Linked DNA regions of Homo sapiens: region 1 is linked to region 2. Evidence: promoter capture Hi-C in 16 types of primary human blood cells and fetal thymus (Javierre and others, 2016). All regions are on one chromosome and are shown on one strand. Each heading gives the region's core, a stretch centred on a gene start or on the middle of the fragment in contact. The rest is flanking DNA. Distances are from core to core; before and after follow the strand shown.

Evidence for each region. Contacts are between HindIII fragments. The CHiCAGO score rates a contact against its expected background, and 5 or more counts as called.
Region 1: the fragment with the promoter of DHH here is called in contact with the fragment with the promoter of TROAP in region 2 in 9 of 17 cell types (neutrophils, M2 macrophages, erythroblasts and 6 more); the score reaches 12.3 in neutrophils.

What each region holds. Positions count from the first base shown.
Region 1 is chr12:49,092,962-49,096,989 of GRCh38, forward strand. It overlaps DHH (desert hedgehog signaling molecule), which reads right to left and starts at 1,840. Exons shown (of 3, transcript NM_021044.4): 1 at 1,249-1,840. The coding sequence starts at 1,551. It overlaps DHH-AS1 (DHH antisense RNA 1), which reads left to right. Exons shown (of 4, transcript XR_007063295.1): 3 at 1,161-1,227; 4 at 2,440-2,783. The HindIII fragment of the contact is 10,631 bases long and covers 1-2,064 here.
Region 2 is chr12:49,319,948-49,324,504 of GRCh38, forward strand. TROAP (trophinin associated protein) reads left to right here and starts at 3,308. Exons shown (of 15, transcript NM_005480.4): 1 at 3,308-3,402; 2 at 3,657-3,805; 3 at 3,898-4,090. The coding sequence starts at 3,662. TROAP-AS1 (TROAP and PRPH antisense RNA 1) reads right to left here. Exons shown (of 8, transcript NR_120449.1): 1 at 4,545-4,557; 2 at 4,200-4,392. RefSeq lists enhancers at 2,021-2,240, 3,382-3,531. The HindIII fragment of the contact is 3,639 bases long and covers 2,910-4,557 here.

The DNA of each region.
Region 1 (4,028 bases), core at 590-3,089, 230 kb before region 2:
TTTCCTAACAAAGTAACCTGGAAAACTATGGCAATTAATCAGAGGAAATCCGTACCCCTCCCTCTCCCCCCACCTCCCCACTCCATACACAATTAGGTGGTGTAATGGAAAGTATATAGGGCTTAGAATCAGGAGTCCTGAATTCTAGTCCCAGCCATGCCACTTTAAATTGTGAGAGTTTAAATTGCTTTTCCTCCTGGGGGAAGTCCAGCTCTCAGATGTAAAATGAGGGTGGCAGTGGGGGTGGGGAGGGTTGGAGGAATGTCATCTCTCAAGTTTTCTTTCAGTTCTAACATTCAAGATCACTGGCCAGGCTGGATGAAGTGGCTCACACCTGTAATCCAGCACTTTGGGAGGCCGAGGTGGGAGGATCCCTTGAGCTCAGGAGTTCAAGACTAGCCTAGGCAACATGGCAAGACCCCGTCTCTACAAAAAATAAAAAATAAATCACTCGCCAGAGGTGGTCCTTCTCTTCCACCTCACTCTAGGTGGTTCCAATGCTCAAAAATGGTAGTTGAATTTATCCTAATTATGTAATTCCAAGGAAAGCCCCTGAGATAGGCAGAGCTTGGAAGACTTAGGAGCCCTCTGATTCTCAGGTGGGTCCATCTGTTATTCTCACTGAGGATTACTTTTTAACCCCAAGATTATCGTTTAGACCCTAGGATAGCCCTAGAATAGACCCTAGAATAGATGTGTCCTGGTTCTAGGACACGTTTCCCATGCCAAAAGCAATGTCTGCCCAGCCCCTCCTCAGGTAGATGGTCTGGTGACCTGACCCTTGGCCACCCCTGTCCCAGCCCTTTTCAGTCTCTTCTTTTCGGCCCACAGAGCTTTTCTACAATCAGGTCAGGAGCCAGGCTTCTGTCTGCTACCTAGCCAGCTCCTGGCCCCCAGCTCACCCCAGCCCTTCCTGCCTGGCTGGGTGGCTGACCCCCGGTCCACGCCTCAGCCATTTCCCGTCTCGCCTGCCGCCATCCTCCTTTCCCCGCCCTCGCTGCCTCTACCAGCTTCACTCTCACTAGTCAGTCCCTCCTCCCCTCCCCATCCCAGACTATTCTAGTCGGGAGCCGTCCTAATTACTCTGTCCAGACTGCAAGGATTTTTCCCCCCCCTGGGGCTGGTGACAAGGGAAATCTCTAAGGCTAAACTCTCTGTAGGTGAAGCTGGACTCACCCACCTGGGCTGCCATAGGAAAACGGAGGAGCTGGCAGTGCCCCGGCGCAGGTAGGGAGAGGCCCTCCTTACCTCGGTCATCAGGCGGTCGGCTCCACTGTTCTCCTCATCCTTGAAGATGATGTCGGGGTTGTAGTTGGGCACGAGGTCCCGGAAGCGCTCGGAGCCCCTTGCCACCCTCCCCTCCGCTGGCCCACTGGCGCCCAGGGTCCGCTCTGGCACGCCGGGCACAAATTGCTTGTAGAGTAGCGGCACGAGCTGCTTGCGCGCATAGCGGCGCCGGCCAACCGGCCCCCGGCCCGGCCCGCAGCTCTGGGCTGGCAGCGCCAGAAGTGCCAAGCAGCACAGGGGCAGTAGATTGGTCAGGAGAGCCATGGATACAGCGGACCTCGGCCAAAAGGGAGCGTTCTTGTCCTCACTAACTCTCCTGTCAGTTAGGCATCTCCACAGGCACCAGAGAGGGCAGCAGGCACAGCTGCCCCCAGAGTGCCCTAGAGCTCTTGTGGCTCCGTGCACCTGGCTGCTGCTAGCTCTGCCCACGTGCCCCGGGAGCGGGCGGGGGGTGTCTAGGACCTGCTACTGACAAACCATCATAGCAGGGAAGGGGGGTCGTGGGTGAGTGCCAGCCCAGCCCGTCTCTGCTGCAGGACTCTGGTGCTGCCAGAACGCCCGGACTCCGGACTCCGCCTTAAGTGGCCCCTGGCCCCGCCCTCCGCCCTTCTCCCAAGACCGTCCCACCCCCTCCCACCCGGGCGGGGGATCTAGCCGGTCACTGCTGGTCCATTTTGCGACTGAAGTGTGTCCCATCCTGGAAACCAGGCAGACACCTGCCTAGGAAATACTTGTAGCTTTACAGTCCTTGGCTGCCTAAACATCCTTCTACCTCCAAGCTTAAACTTGGAACCAAACCACCCTCCTCTGATACTTGAATTGGAATTTTTACTCTCTCAAAGCCTACCCTGGCAGGCCATGCCCTCCGCTGTCATCCAGGAAGTATGGGTTCCAATTTCTGCCCAAGACCAGCCAAGCCCTTTGGGCATACAACCAGAGCCTCCCTTCTCTGTAGTCCTCCCCAGATCTCCCCGACTTCCATCTCTCCTCACATTCAGCATTAAGCAGGACTGGGAGGTGAGGATACCAGGGGCCCATTTCTCTACTAACTTTGCAGTCTCCTTTGGAACTTCCCCAGAACCAGGAACAGAGCTTGGTACTTATTGTCTCATTTAGGACTTCCAACTTTTTTCCCCTTCTCTTCTTTGCCAGGCATCTAATAGCTGCTGTTTTTCAAATGAATGACTTCTCAGTTGGAAGCTGCTGAAGGGCAGTGGACACTCAAAAGTCTTTGTAAGAGGTGAGGATCACTTCCCTTAACCGTCCATCTAGGCACCTCTCCAGCTTTCTCCCTCTCTGGACTCCCGGGGCTCCATTTTCAGCCACTCAGATCTCATCTCAGAGGCACCACGTCCAATTTCTTTTGTTTAGAAGTCATTTCTTCTAAGAAGCCTTCCTTGATGTCCCAACACTGCCCACCTGTGTTCCCTCGAGAACCATTACTTAACTGCAGTGTTAGAACAGTATTAGAATTATCTGGCACCTTACTAGACAAAGCAATCTTAAGCACACACATATTTATCATGTATCTCCAAGGTTAAGTGCCTACTCTACAGAAGGGTGCTTTGCAAGCATTTGTGGAATCTACACTTTGTGTTTCATATTCACCCTCCCCTCACCACACTCTATGGCTAGTACTCATAGCAACTTTGTGTACATCAGAAAAAACCAGGCCAGGCACAGTGGCTCACTCCTGTAATCCCAACACTTTGGGGGCGAGGCAAGGACTGCTTGAGGCCATGAGTTGAAGACCAACTTGGTCAACATAGTGACACCCCGTTTCAAAAAAAAAAAATTAATTAGTGGGAGGTAGTGGTACATGCCTGTAGTCTTAGGTACTCAGGAGGCTGAGGAAGGAGGATCACTTGGGTGCAAGAGTTCAAGGCTGTAGAGTGAGCTAAGATCATGCCACTGCACTCTAACCTGGGTGACAGAGTGAGGACCCCCCCCCCCAAAAAAAAGATGGCTGGGTGTTGTGGCTAACCCCTGTAATTCCATCATTTGGGGAGTCCAAGGTAGGTGGATCACTTGAGCTCAGGAGTTCAAGACCAGCCCAGGCAACATGGCAAAACCCCATCTCTACTAAAAATACAAAAATTAGCCAGGCATGGTAGCATGTGTCTGTTGTCCTAGCTATTCTGGAGCCTGAGCTGGAAGAATGGCTTGAGCCCAGAATGCGGAGGTTGCAGTGAGCTGAGATTGCACCACTGCACTCCAGCCAGGGTGATAGAGCCAGACCTTGTCTCACAAAAAAAAAAAAAAAAAAAAGAAGAAGAAAAAAGAAAAAAAAAGCACCCCTTCCTCAAGATGACTGACATTTATTAGAAAACTATCATAGTAACTATCCACACAATGACTATGAGGTGAATGGTGTCCCTGGAAGCTGTGCAATACACAATCTGTATAAGCCTAAGTTTTGCGCTCTTACTCCCAACATAGCACATGGGCTTTTCAAGAAACTGATGGCCTCTAGTAAAAAGCTAGATTCTTCTCTCAGGTAGGAAATGAAAATCCTTGTCAGCCAGCCACTTATTTTACTCTATATCCAATAGTTAAGCCAGGGAGGATAGGGCTGAAGGTATGAGTGTATCGGGGAGGTTAGCCTACTCCTATGCCCATGTCCTACCCCCAATACTCAAGGTACAGAAACAAGGCCATGAATATAAGGAGGAGTCAGGGGACAAGCCAGCTTTAAGCAAGACTGAGGATGGAGGAGTTTCCCACTGCCCAACTGCATGGCC
Region 2 (4,557 bases), core at 2,058-4,557:
GCAAGGTACTAAAGATATGATGGTAGGCCAAAAATAGAGGGTCACCTTCATCATCTCCTTGGAGGTCTATTGGAGGAAACTGGGTTTAGTAAACATATTATGTTCACACTGATTAATATATAATTACCAACTAACATACATGCTCTGAGGAAACAAACATTACTTTTTGCGAGCACATAGCCAAGAGGTCTTTACTAGATTGGGGTGGGTGGTAGGTAGAGGGGTGCAAGGAAGGCCTGAGGAAATAACAATGGGAATCAATTTGGAGGCATAAATAGGCCAAGTGGAAGTGAAAAGGACATTCCAGAAACAGGGACCATATAGAGCAATCAGGACAAACTTGAGGAATTGAAAGAAGCCATGAAGTTGGAGATATTAATAGAAGGGGAAGAGTGGTAGAAGATGGAGGGTTTCAGTGGGGAGAGGTCAAGGGATAGTGGTAGCCTGACTTGATGTGCATTTTGGAAAGATTACTCTAGCTGCTATATGGAGAATGGAAGAGTGTGAAGAGAAAGAGAGAATAGGGGATGGGAGACCAACTAAGACACTCTTGCAATTGCCTAGGTGAGACTGAGGTGGATTAGGGTGGTGCTAACAAAGAACAAGAAAGTAGATGGGCCGGGTGCGGTGGCTCACGCCTGTAATCCCAACACTTTCGGAGGCCGAGGCAAGTGGATCACTTGAGGTCAGGAGTTCGAGACCATCCTGACCAGCATTGTGAAACCCCGTCTCTACTAAAATACAAAAATTAGCTGGGCATGGTGGCTGGTGCCTGTAATCCCAGCTACTAAGGAGGCTGAGGCAGGAGAATCGCTTGAACCCGGGAGGTGGAGGCTGCAGTGAGCTGAGATCAGGCCACTGCACTCCAGCCTGGGGGATAGAGCAAGACTCTGTCTCAAAAAAAAAGAAAGAAAGAAAAAGAGAGAGTGAGAGAGAGAGAGAGAAAGAGAGAGAGAAAAAAAAAGAGAAAGAAAGAAAAAGAGAGAAAGAAAAAAGAAAGAAAGAAAGAAAAAGAAAAAAGAAAGAAAGAGAAAGTAAGAAATTTTTTTTCTTTTTTGAGACAGAGTTTCACTCTTGTCACCCAGGCTGGAGAATGCAGTGGCACAATCTTGGCTCACTGCAGCCTCTGCCTCCTGGGTTCAAGTGATTTTCCTGCCTCAACCTCCCAAGTAGCTGGGATTACAGGCATCAGCCACCATGCCCAGCTAATTTTTGTATTTTCAGTAGAGACGGGGTTTCACAATGTTGGTCAGGATGGTCTCAAACTCTTGACCTCAGGTGATCCGCCCACCTCGGCCTCCCAAAGTGCTGGGATTACAGTCATAAACCCAGCCGAAAGTAGATGATCTTTTTGTTGTTGTTTGTTTGGTTTTTTTTTGAGACGGAGTTTCGCTCTTGTTGCCCAGGTTGGAGTTGCAGTGGTGCGATCTCGGCTCACCTCAACCTCCGCCTCCTGGGTTCAAGCGATTCTCCTGCCTCAGCCTCCTGAGTAGCTGGGATTACAGGCATGAGCCACCAAGTCCGGCTAATTTTTGTGTTTTTAGTAGAGACGGTTTTCTCCATGTTGGTCAGCCTGGTCTTGAACTCCCAACCTCAGGTGATCCCCCTGCCTTGGCCTCCCAGAGTGCTGGGATTACAGGCGTGAGCCACCGCGCACAGCCTGAAAGTAGATGAATTTTAAAGATGCATACAATTAGTAAAGATACCTTACGTATCTTTAAATTTTTTTTTATAGAAACAGGATCTTGCTACACTGTCTAGGCTGGTCTGGAACTCCTGGCCTCAAGCGATCCACCTGGGCCATCCAAAGTGCTGGGAAAGACGCCTGTAACCCCAGGCTAGACAACGTAGCCAGATCTTGTCTCTACAAAAAAACACAAAAATTAGCTGGTGGCAGGCACCTGTAGTCCCAGCTACTTGAGAGGCTGAGGTTCCCACCTCAGGAGGCCGAGGCTGCGGTGAGCTGAGATCGCACCACTGCACTCCAGCCTGGGCGACAGAGTGAGACCCTGTCCCAAAAATGCATAAATAGTAAAACTAGTGAGAGTGAATGAGAGATGGGATATGTAAAGGGAGTGGGAGGAGTTAAGGAGTAACTCCTCGGTTTCTGGCTTGTGTAAGAATAACTTCTGTGATTGGTGGGGAAAATCCACCAGAGTTCTGTTAAGTGTTGTTCATTTCCTGTCCCCCGTTAGGGGTTACCCCTTCCATCTTAAGCAGGATATTCTAGGATCTCTCAGTCTCACAGCCTTGCCCACCAATAACCAGCAGGTGAGCCCCCTCTCCCCAGACCTCTAGATCTGCAAAAGGCAACCTGGAGGCAAGGAAATCCCCAGCTGTGAGTAGCCATTCAATTCTGGTGCTGTGGTAACTGAGTTCAAAAACAATGAGTCTTGTTACCTACCCGTAAAATGAAAGACACCTCATCAGACACCTCACTGGATTGTGAGGCTCCAAGGAGCACACATATTGTTAGGCTCAGTTCGATTCCCTCCAGCCCTCTCCGCCCGTTTGAAGGCAGTTCCTTATCCCGGAGACAACGTACAGATGTTCTCTCTTTCCCTCTTTATTTTTTTTAAGACAGGGTCTCTGTTGCCCAGGCTGGAGTGCAGTGGCGCGACCACAGCTCACTACAGCCTCAACCTCCTGGGCTCAACACGATCCTCCTGCCTCAGCCTCCAGAGCGGCTGGGACTACAAGCGCGCACCACTGCACAGGGATTATTATTATTATTTTATTATTTTGTAGAGAAACGGGTGGGAGTGGTCTCGCTATGTTGCCCAGGCTGGTCTCAAACTCAGCTCAAGAGATCCTCCCGCCTCGGCGTCCCAAAGTGTTGGGATTACAGGCGCCTGCCACCGCGCCCGGACGCAGATATTTTCTATGGGCATCTGGAATGGCGTCCCCAAAGCTTGGCGCCGTGCTATGGTCAAGCCGGGTCGGGGGCTCGGGCCAGCCTTCAACACCGTTGGCAGCAATCGGAACGATCAACTGTACCCTCAGTACCGCGACCTCGCCCGGTCCTGCCAATGGCCGGCCCCTAGCCGGTCCTGAGGCCTCGCGAGAGCTCCCGTGGCTACGCCTTCCCCGGCCTCGGAACGGCCCCATCCTTCCTCTTTCCCCGCCTCCCAGCGGCGCTCCACTCTCGGATTGGCTGATTGATCCGAGTCAGTTTTTTTCCTCGCCAGAAAGCGGTTCGACAATTGGTCCTTCTTTTGGCCCCTCCTGCGATGCCCGCGGATTGGACGGCTGAGTCTGGCTACGCGGGCCTCCGCGGGAGCGCGACCGGGCCAATCAAGAGCTTGGCGTATTTTACAAACTGAGAAAGTAGCTCCAGCAGCACCCGAGAGGGTCAGGAGAAAAGCGGAGGAAGCTGGGTAGGCCCTGAGGGGCCTCGGTAAGGTAAGGCACGGGGGTCTTGAAGGGAACGAAGGCTGCTGGGTTCATAGGGAGGAGGGCAGTTTGGGGCCCGAGGGCGAAAGAGTAGGCTCGGGGTGTCTGGAGATAGCACCCATAAGAGCGGTCTTGCAGGCGCCGGGGGCTTGTGGGCGCGTGGATTAGGGCGGAGGTATCAGGGATGGCAGGACAGGTGCCCCGAGAACTGGTTGATCTTTGATCTTAGATTCTGCCTGCCTTCTTCCCCGTCTCAATTGTAGCCATCATGACCACCCGGCAAGCCACGAAGGATCCCCTCCTCCGGGGTGTATCTCCTACCCCTAGCAAGATTCCGGTACGCTCTCAGAAACGCACGCCTTTCCCCACTGTTACATCGTGCGCCGTGGACCAGGAGAACCAAGATCCAAGGGTAAGAGGGGCCTAATGGGGGAAGACAGTAGTCACACCAGTAATGCACCCCAACACTAAACCTCACCTTTTTGTCCCCGCTCCCTCCCCTAGAGATGGGTGCAGAAACCACCGCTCAATATTCAACGCCCCCTCGTTGATTCAGCAGGCCCCAGGCCGAAAGCCAGGCACCAGGCAGAGACATCACAAAGATTGGTGGGGATCAGTCAGCCTCGGAACCCCTTGGAAGAGCTCAGGCCTAGCCCTAGGGGTCAAAATGTGGGGCCTGGGCCCCCTGCCCAGACAGGTACCTGTTGGAGCCATGGTAACACGGCCTCCATGGCTGAGTAGGGGACTAGGAAGGGTAAAAGTGGGGTTTTGGGGTTTTGCACTCACTCCTGCTGTCTCCTACTTACTGTGATAGTCCTGGTCCCAGCTCCTGGAAAGCTCTTTGCTCTTAGAAGATCTCCCTTTCCTCCAGCAAAATGTCATCTCGCCAGGTGCCATGGCTTGTACCTGTAATCACAGCTACTCAGGAGGCTGAAGCAGGAGGATCACTGGAGGCCAGGAGTTGGAGACCAGCCTGGATGACAGAGGGAGATCCCATCTCTTTAAAAAATAAATAAATAAATAAATAATAAATATCACTTCTTCTGAAGCCTTTTCCAGTTCCCCATGTCACAATCAGTTGCTCTGTGTTCTCCTAATACTTTGCAGCACTTCTTTTATAACATGTATATACCTTGGCTTGAGTCTGTTACCTGTCTATAGTTT